Linked DNA regions of Homo sapiens: all the other regions are linked to region 2. Evidence: promoter capture Hi-C in 16 types of primary human blood cells and fetal thymus (Javierre and others, 2016). All regions are on one chromosome and are shown on one strand. Each heading gives the region's core, a stretch centred on a gene start or on the middle of the fragment in contact. The rest is flanking DNA. Distances are from core to core; before and after follow the strand shown.

What was found. Contacts are between HindIII fragments. The CHiCAGO score rates a contact against its expected background, and 5 or more counts as called.
Region 1: a contact is called between a fragment that was not itself captured here and the fragment with the promoter of ZNF222 in region 2, in 1 of 17 cell types (total CD8 T cells). The highest score is 5.4, in total CD8 T cells.
Region 3: a contact is called between a fragment that was not itself captured here and the fragment with the promoter of ZNF222 in region 2, in 7 of 17 cell types (non-activated CD4 T cells, total CD4 T cells, total CD8 T cells and 4 more). The highest score is 8.4, in non-activated CD4 T cells.

Annotation. Positions count from the first base shown.
Region 1 is chr19:43,923,225-43,925,924 of GRCh38, reverse strand. It overlaps ZNF45 (zinc finger protein 45), which reads left to right. Exons shown (of 10, transcript NM_003425.4): 4 at 467-600; 5 at 1,364-1,523; 6 at 1,615-1,687. It overlaps ZNF45-AS1 (ZNF45 antisense RNA 1), which reads right to left. Exons shown (of 3, transcript NR_184050.1): 2 at 671-783. Among named protein-coding and RNA genes, the nearest start is that of ZNF45, 11 kb to the left of the region's middle. The HindIII fragment of the contact is 2,032 bases long and covers 429-2,460 here.
Region 2 is chr19:44,023,930-44,026,629 of GRCh38, reverse strand. It overlaps ZNF222 (zinc finger protein 222), which reads right to left and starts at 1,251. Exons shown (of 4, transcript NM_001129996.2): 1 at 1,152-1,251. The coding sequence starts at 1,193. It overlaps ZNF222-DT (ZNF222 divergent transcript), which reads left to right and starts at 1,348. Exons shown (of 3, transcript NR_184028.1): 1 at 1,348-1,515; 2 at 1,611-1,732. RefSeq lists enhancers at 956-1,005, 1,236-1,285. The HindIII fragment of the contact is 1,542 bases long and covers 1-1,436 here.
Region 3 is chr19:44,117,210-44,119,909 of GRCh38, reverse strand. It overlaps ZNF225 (zinc finger protein 225), which reads right to left. Exons shown (of 5, transcript NM_013362.4): 3 at 1,596-1,722; 4 at 1,336-1,428. Among named protein-coding and RNA genes, the nearest start is that of ZNF225, 5.2 kb to the right of the region's middle. The HindIII fragment of the contact is 2,373 bases long and covers 125-2,497 here.

The DNA of each region.
Region 1 (2,700 bases), core at 195-2,694, 100 kb after region 2:
GTGGTGGCTTACGCCTATAATCCCAGCACTTTGGGAGGCCAAGGCGGGTGGATCACTTGAGGTCAGGAGGTCGAGACCAGCCTGGCCAAAATAGTGAAACCTCATCTGTACTAAAAAAACAAAAGAAACAAAAAAAATTAGCCAGGAATGGTGGCGGGTGCCCATAATCCAGCTACTGGGGAGGCTGAGGCAGGATAATCTTTTGAACCCGGAAGGCTGAGGTTGCAGTAAGCTGAGATCATTCCACTGCACTCCAGCCTGGGCCACAGCGCAAGACTCCATTTCAGAAAAATAAATAAATAAGTATTTCTTCTAAGATTGGAAGGTTTTATGTTTCCCTTTTCAATAGTAAGGGTTCTTCTATCTGAAGTAAGAGAACTAAGAATAATTTACTAATAAATCAAGCAGTAATTAACTAATACTAAGCTTTTAATCTGGGTATTTTACTCGTTTCCACCCTCCATAGAATCAGAATCATACCCTGAGAGCTACAAGAACTCCATTTTTCACTGTGCAGAGGCTCTCTGCTGAAGGGTCAAGTGGAATCTGGAATCCAGCCCATGTTTCCCCATCATCAAGCCATGTGAAGCTGCAGACTCCGTGAGTGCCTTAGTCCATTTGTGCTGCTATAACAAACAATACCATAGGCTGGGTGGCTTAAACAACAAACCTTTATAACTCACAGTCCTGGAGACTGGGAAGTCCATGATCAAGTCACTGGCAAATCCAATGTCTAATGAGGCCACTCTTACTGGTTCGCAGAAGCTGTTGTCTTGTATCTTCCTGGGAGGAAGAGAGAAAGAGCTAGGTTACTTGCTTTTCTTACAAGGAAAGCAATCCCATTATGGAGGCTTCACCCTCATGACCTAATTACCTCCTAAAGGCCCCACCTCCCAATAACATCACATTAGGGCTTCAACATAAGAATTTTGAGGGGACACAGACATTGGTCCACAGCAGCAAGGGAGGGGCTCCCTGACTGTTTCATGTAAAGCATCTGCATGGGTTTATGTGTAACTTCTATTGATTGTTTAAGCTGCCAGAAACTGTTCCACATGTTTTGTGTATACTTAGTCACTTTCACTGACCTTCCTATGAAGTAGGTATTATTATTACATCCAGTTTATAGATTAGACATTAGAGCACAAAGTACTAGCAAGTTGGACATGCCTGTATTCCAGTACTGGTGGGCTGGTTCTGGAGTCTAGACTGTTCACAACTCTGTTCTCTACTCCCTCAAGCAGCTCCCTTGGCTTCAGAGTCCAATCTCCATTTCTGTGTCTGTCTTTTACCCCTAACTCTGGAGCCCTCATTTCTCCTTCCATGAGATCTTAGACTCCCATCTGCTTATTTTTGTCTTTAGAAGCAACAGAGAGACAAGATTTAGAATACTGGCTCTGGTATGAAAGCTGGATTCAGGTACTGTTCCTGCCTCTTGACCTCACCAAGCCTCAGCTTCCTCGCCTGTTAAATGGATACAATTGTCGTCATTATCATCTGTTGAGAACTCCCTAAAATGCCAGGTACTATGCCAAGGGCATTGCATAAATTCACTCATTGATTCCTCACAGTAATCCTATGATTAACATCCTGTTTTCATTTCCCTTCTTATAGCTGAGCATAGGCACAGAAGTTTAGGTGTTTGGACCAAGGTCACACAACTGATACAACAGTAGCTTCTTCACAGGTATGTGTGAAGTACCTTAATGAAACATCATGTGCCAAGTTCTTCATAAGGTCCCTAATATGTATTTAGTTAAATATCACCATTTTTGTTGTTATTATTGTGCTTCCTATAGCTTGTTAATTTCAGTGACATTATCTAATTTATAGTTGCATAAATCTTGCAGAGTCATGATTTTTTATTAAATTTTCTCTGTCTCTATGATAGTCTTTTTAAGGCCCTACTGTTAAAGTAAATTTTGCAAGGTCTTTTTTTTTTTTTTTAGATTTTTTTTTTTTCTCTTTAGAGATCACTCTGTTGGCCAGGTTGGTCTTGAACTCTTGGCCTCAAGCAGTCCTCCCACTTTGGCCTCCCAGAGTGCTAGGATTACAGGCATGAGCCACTCTACACAGCCAAATTTTGCAAGGTCTTATACCTTTTAGAAACCAGTCCATATAGTCAAATTCATAGAGATAACGTGGTTATCAGGGGCTGGGAGGGGGAATGGGGAATTATTACTTAATGGGTACATAAAAAATTCTGATGATGGATAGTGGTGATGGCTGCACAACAATGTAAATGTACTTACTGAATGTAACCACTTAAAAAATGGTTAAAATGGTAAATTTTATGTTACATATTTTACTATCAAAAAAAGCAGTCATCTATGTACAGTAGTCCCCCCTTATCCACAGCAGATACCTTCCAAGTCCCCCAGTGAATGACTTAAACCTCAGATATTACTGAACCCTAAATATACTATGTTTTTCCTTTACCTACATACTTATGATAAAGCTTAATTTATAAATTAGGCACAGTAAGAGACTAACAACAATAACTTATAATAAAATAGAATAATGATAAAATACTGTAACAAAAGTTCTATAAACATGGTCTCTCTCTCTCTCTCAGAATATCTTACTGCACTGTACTCACCTATTTTTGGGCCATAGTTGACTTCAGGTAACTGAAACCACAGAAAGCAAAACTATGGATAGGAAGGACCACTGTAATCTTAAATACTATTGCAAAAGCCT
Region 2 (2,700 bases), core at 2-2,501:
GTTACAGTGAGCCAAGATTGCACCACTGCACTCCAGCCTAAGCAACAAGAGCGAAACTCTGTAAAAAAAAAAATATATATATATATAGAGAGAGAGAGAGAAAGAAAATAGTAGATAAGGTTAAAAAAATTAAAAAGCAAAAAGCAAACAAACAAAAACTCCTATAGAAGTCCAAGCCCCTGAGCCTTGCCTCAAGGTGCCTTCAATCAAGTCCTAACTTACGTTCTCCACCTGTTCCCAGCTAGTACCTCTGCCTCAATGAGAATTGCATTCAAGAGATGATCAACTCAGGCTCTAACCTGGACTGCCTAGGTTTCAACTCCTGCTCCACCTGTGTCTCACGCCCATCTTTAAAATGAAAAAAGCAGCACCTCTCCACAGTGCCACTGTGAAGATCATGTATTTTGGGGTATAAAGTACTTGGAATAAAGTTACCAATTAAGGCTTAATCATTATCGACACCCATGCCCGAGGGACAAATCCTACACACTCTCGGTTGAGGTAAGCATCTCTGTCAAAGAAAAAAAGCCAAGGATCACTCACGTAGAGCTTTGCCATCAGTAGCCAAGAAGTCCCTTCCTGCAGCTCTTTTAGAAAGGTCGGGCTGGGGAAAAAGAAAGCTGTGAAACACCCTGACCGTTTTGCCGTCCCCCATAAAAGTTAAATGCTCCCCTCACTTTCCTAAAAAGAGGTCAGAAGGCGTCAGGGATCATCCAGCGTCCTGCAGGGATCAGGCAGAAGGGCCGGCGCCCCTGCAGCTGGAGCTCTGACCCCACCAGAGGACCTGACAGGCTTCGTGGGAAATTAACAAGAGACCACCAGACACCGAGTGACAGGGACTGCTTTTAAGGCTCTCATTTGTGTTACCTCTTTCAGGTCCCAAAATGAATCCATTAGGATGGTCCGAAAAGTCCCGTTACAAAACAAACAAACAAACGAACCAGCAATGGAAGATAAACGGACATTAAGTGACACTCCACACCACACTGAAAGGGGCTGCACACGTAGGGAGGAGGGAGGCGGACTAAGCGAGGTCAAAGTAGGGCACACCGGGCCGCGCCAATCCCACTCCCTGAGACCCTAGCAGAGCCCCCCGACGCCAGAAGGCTCAGCTGACTGGAACGGCAATCCCCGCCCGCGCCCCTCCAAACCTCTGCTCTCCGCCCAGGCTTCTTTTCTCCTGAATCGATCATTGGGTGGTTGCGAGCCCCAAGGAAAGGAGACTCGTTCGGAAGGACTCGCAAGATGTGGAAATGACTCAAACTACTGTGGTAAATGAAATAGCAACGTCACAGTTGGGGACCGGAAGTGCTCGAGCCTCCACAGAGCGTGTGGACTCCACTTCCCAGAATTCCCCGGACTCGCCCGTGTGAGACAAAGGGCCCGCGACTCAAACAGAGCATTTGGACTATATCACTCTAACTCTGCAGCAAGCTTTCCTGAAGTGGAGTTGGAGATAGCATTTCAGTAAATGTCCTTTACCCACTGCTTATTCGGGACACACCCTGTTGACTGGTGCGTGCAGTCTCCATTCCAAACCACTATTGCCATTCCTATCGCTTCCATAAAGCCTAAGAAATCAAATATTTTCTTTCTCTGCCTTCATCTAGCTAGAAATTTTCATGGGACACAATTTTGGGAAGTGAGACATTAGGAGAAGTGAGCTGTCCTCTCCTGACAAGAAATGTGCTTGGCAGGCTGTGAGTACACGAGGAGTTGAAAGAGTAAAAAGGTGATCGTCTCAGTGGACTGTAGGTATTGGCGAGGTTCTAATATTACTGATGCTAGCATGCTGGTGGGACCAAGGTGGAAATACAAGTCAAAGTTGTTGGAGAGTAGTGCTGCAAATTATTATGGAGGAATATTTGCTAGAAAATGACGAGGTCTAAAATATGACCATGGGAGAGAGTGTCCCTTGATATTTCACATGAATCTCAGGTGGATTTTTTCATTTCTGAGAAAAATGTTACTGTGATTAAGGATTGCATTGAATCTATAGATATAGGTATTGACAGCCTTGCAATATCAAGTCGCCCAATCCATTAATAATGGATATATCTCCATTTATTTGCGCCTTCTTTAATTTTTTTTTTTTTTTTTTTGAGACAGAGTCTCACTCTGTCGCCCAAGCTGGAGTGCAGTGGCACAATCTTGGCTCACTGCAACCTCCGCCTCCTGAGTTCAAGCGATTCTCCTGCCTCAGCCTCCCAAGTAGCTGGGATTACAGGCACGTACCACCATACCTGGCCAATTTTTGTATTTTTAGTGAAGACAGGGGTTTCACCAGGTTGGCCAGGCTGATCTCGAACTCCTGGCCTCAAGTTATTCGCCTGCCTGGGCCTCACAAAGTGCTGGGATTACAGGCATAAGCCACCATGCCTGGGGTGCCTTCTTTAATTTTCTTTAGTAAGATGTTGCAAAATTCAGTGTCCAAGTGTTTCTTGTCATTGGTTAAGACAGTTCCTAAGTAATTTATTTATTTAATGCTATTGCAAAGGGAACTATTTTCCTTTTCAGATTAATTGTTTTTGTATAGAAATACAACTGCTTCTTCTATGTAGATATTTTTCCTGCAACTTTCTGACTTTACTAGCTCTAAGAGTTTTTTTTTCTTGTGAATTCTTTAGAATTTTTATATATAAGAACATGTCATTAGCATATAGACAATTTTACCTCTGTTTCCAATTTTAATAGCTTTAT
Region 3 (2,700 bases), core at 62-2,561, 93 kb before region 2:
GGAAATGGCCTCTCTAAAACTGAACAGAGACTTGAATATGCTTAAAGGAGAAGCCAGAAAGTTTTGAGGTGAAAGAGTATTCTGATCAGACAGAAAAGCAAGTAAGGGCTCTGAGGCAGAAGCTTCAGTAGTAGACAGAACAATGATTCATAAAAGATGTCCACATCCAGTACCCAAGACCTATGAACATGTTATATTACACAGCAAGGGGGACTGGGATTGCAGATGCAATTAAGGTCACTAATCAGCTAACAAGAAAGAGAGGTCATTGTGAATCATCCAGGGGTAACCAACACAATTACAAGGAACCTGAAAGGCAGGAGAGAGAGGCATAAGAAGAGTGGCAGAGTGAGCATGACTATGGAAGAAGGGTCAGAAATGCAAAGTAGCTGCCTTTGAAGATGGAGGAAGGGAAACAAGAGCCAAGGAATGCCTAGAGACTGGTAAACCAAAATAAAGGCTTCTCCTCAAGAGCATCCAGAAAGAAACAAACACCTACAGACAGCTTGATAATTGTCCGGTGAGACGTGTCAGACTTCAGGCCTAAAGAACAGAAAGATGATAAATTTTTGTTGTTTAGTCGACTAAATGTGTGGTCATTGGTTACTACAACAGGCAATACAGTGTCCTTGGCAGGTCAGAGAAACGGTAGGGAGGACAACGTGGCTGGAAGGACAAGGCAAAAGGGAGAGGACAGGAGATGTAGTCAGAGAGGTGGTGGGGGATGAAAAGCAGATCACATGGTCTCTAAAAGGCACTTAAAACACTTGTAACTTAAGTAAACATAAGAAGCCAGCCGGGCGCGGTGGCTCACGCCTGTAATCCCAGCACTTTGGGAGGCCAAGGCGGGCGGATCACGAGGTCAGGAGATCGAGACCATCCTGGCTAACACGGTGAAACCCCGTCTCTACTAAAAATACAAAAAATTAGCCGGGCGTGGTGGCGGGCATCTGTATTCCCAGCTACTCAGGAGGCTGAGGCAGGAGAATGGCGTGAACCCGGGAAGCGGAGCTTGCAGTGAGCCGAGATTGCACCACTGCACTCCAGCCTGGGCGACACAGCGAGACTCCATCTCAAAAAAAAAAAAAAGAAGCCAGAAAGGCTTTTGAGCCGAGGAATGGCAGTCTGACTTTCCTAAGGAATACATTGGCTGCCATGAGGAAAACAGATGTCAGGGTGGGAAAAGTGGGAGCAGGGAAACCAGCCGAAAGTCAGCTGTAATAATTCAGGAAAGAGGTCTGGCCATTTAGACCAGGACAACAGAGCTGGGCAATGGACAGAAGTGAAACCGATGGGAGAGTCACGCACAAGGACACAGAGTTGCTTGCTTCTTACCTAAATTCCCTTCTCTTTGGGTTGCTGTCTCCATCATCCAAAACTTTTCTTCCTTTAGGAAGTGGAAAGTATCTCTGTGGAGTGATTGATGCCCTGTGAACGTGAAAAGTCATGTGCTTAGTGCCAATATATCCTAGAAAAAAATCTAAGTAAAATTTACTGGAAACTTAGGTTCCCAATGCATACTCAAACTTGAACACTCTAGGATACAAAGCCACTCCTGGTCCTGATGTTCCCTTACAAAGGGTGCCTGTCCTCACCCACTGAGAGCAGGTTCCTGAAGTTCTCCAGCATCACTTCTCGGTACAGTTTCCTCTGGGCAAGGTCCAGCAGCCTCAGCTCTTCCTCAGTGAAGACCACAGCCACGTCCTTGAAGGTCACTGCCTCCTACAGCATCGAACATATGCAACCTCAGTCTCATGACCAATGACTACTGAGAGAGGGGTGGCACTGAGCAGACAGAGGGGAGGAATGAGAAGCTGTTTTGGATCTTGAGAGACATAGGTCAACACACAGACTTCCTTTTTTATTATTTTATTTTATTTATTTATTTATTTTGAGACAGTCTTGCTCTGTTGCCCGGGCTGGAGTGCAGTGGCATGATCTTGGCTCACTGCAACCTCCGATTCCCAGGTTCAAGTGATCCTCCCGCCTCAGCCTCCCAAGTAGCTGGGATTACAGGTGCCTGCCACCATGCCTGGCTAATTTTTGTATTTTTAATAGAGATGGGGTTTCACCACATTGGCCAGGCTGGTCTCAAACTCCTGACCTCAGGTGATCCGCCTGCCTCGGCCTCCCAAAGTGCTGGGATTACAGGCATGAGCCACTGCGCCCAGCCAGCTCATAGATTTGCTATTCATTCTGTCTGTATCCTGATAATGATGGATTTTCCTGAGCTCCACCAGAAGTGCAGTGATGGAAAAGACCTCCTGTAGGTTTACTTTGTGCACTTACTGAGTCTCCTTGTAAGTAACCCTGTAGGACTCTAAATGCAGCATCCTGGGCTGCACGTATATAGGTTTCAGTGAATCTTGCCAACTGCCCCAGTAACATTTAACAATTCAGTCCCAGTCTTGCCTGATAATTCCCATTGTTCTCTCTCATACTTGAACCCTGAATGTTATCATTTTTCTTTAATATCTGCCACCAAACTAACAAAGCTTGTGGTAACCTGTGTGGGACAGCTATACAGTACATCCTGTGTACTCTCAAGGCATAAACTACATACATTGATTGCAGCATTGATCTATGATCTGCAGACAGTGTGCCTAAAAGCACATCCCAAGGCTCTGTGCCTTCCTGGTCACATGACCTTGGACAAGTTCACCTATTTACTCCCTCTCTAATAATTTTCATATTATAGTT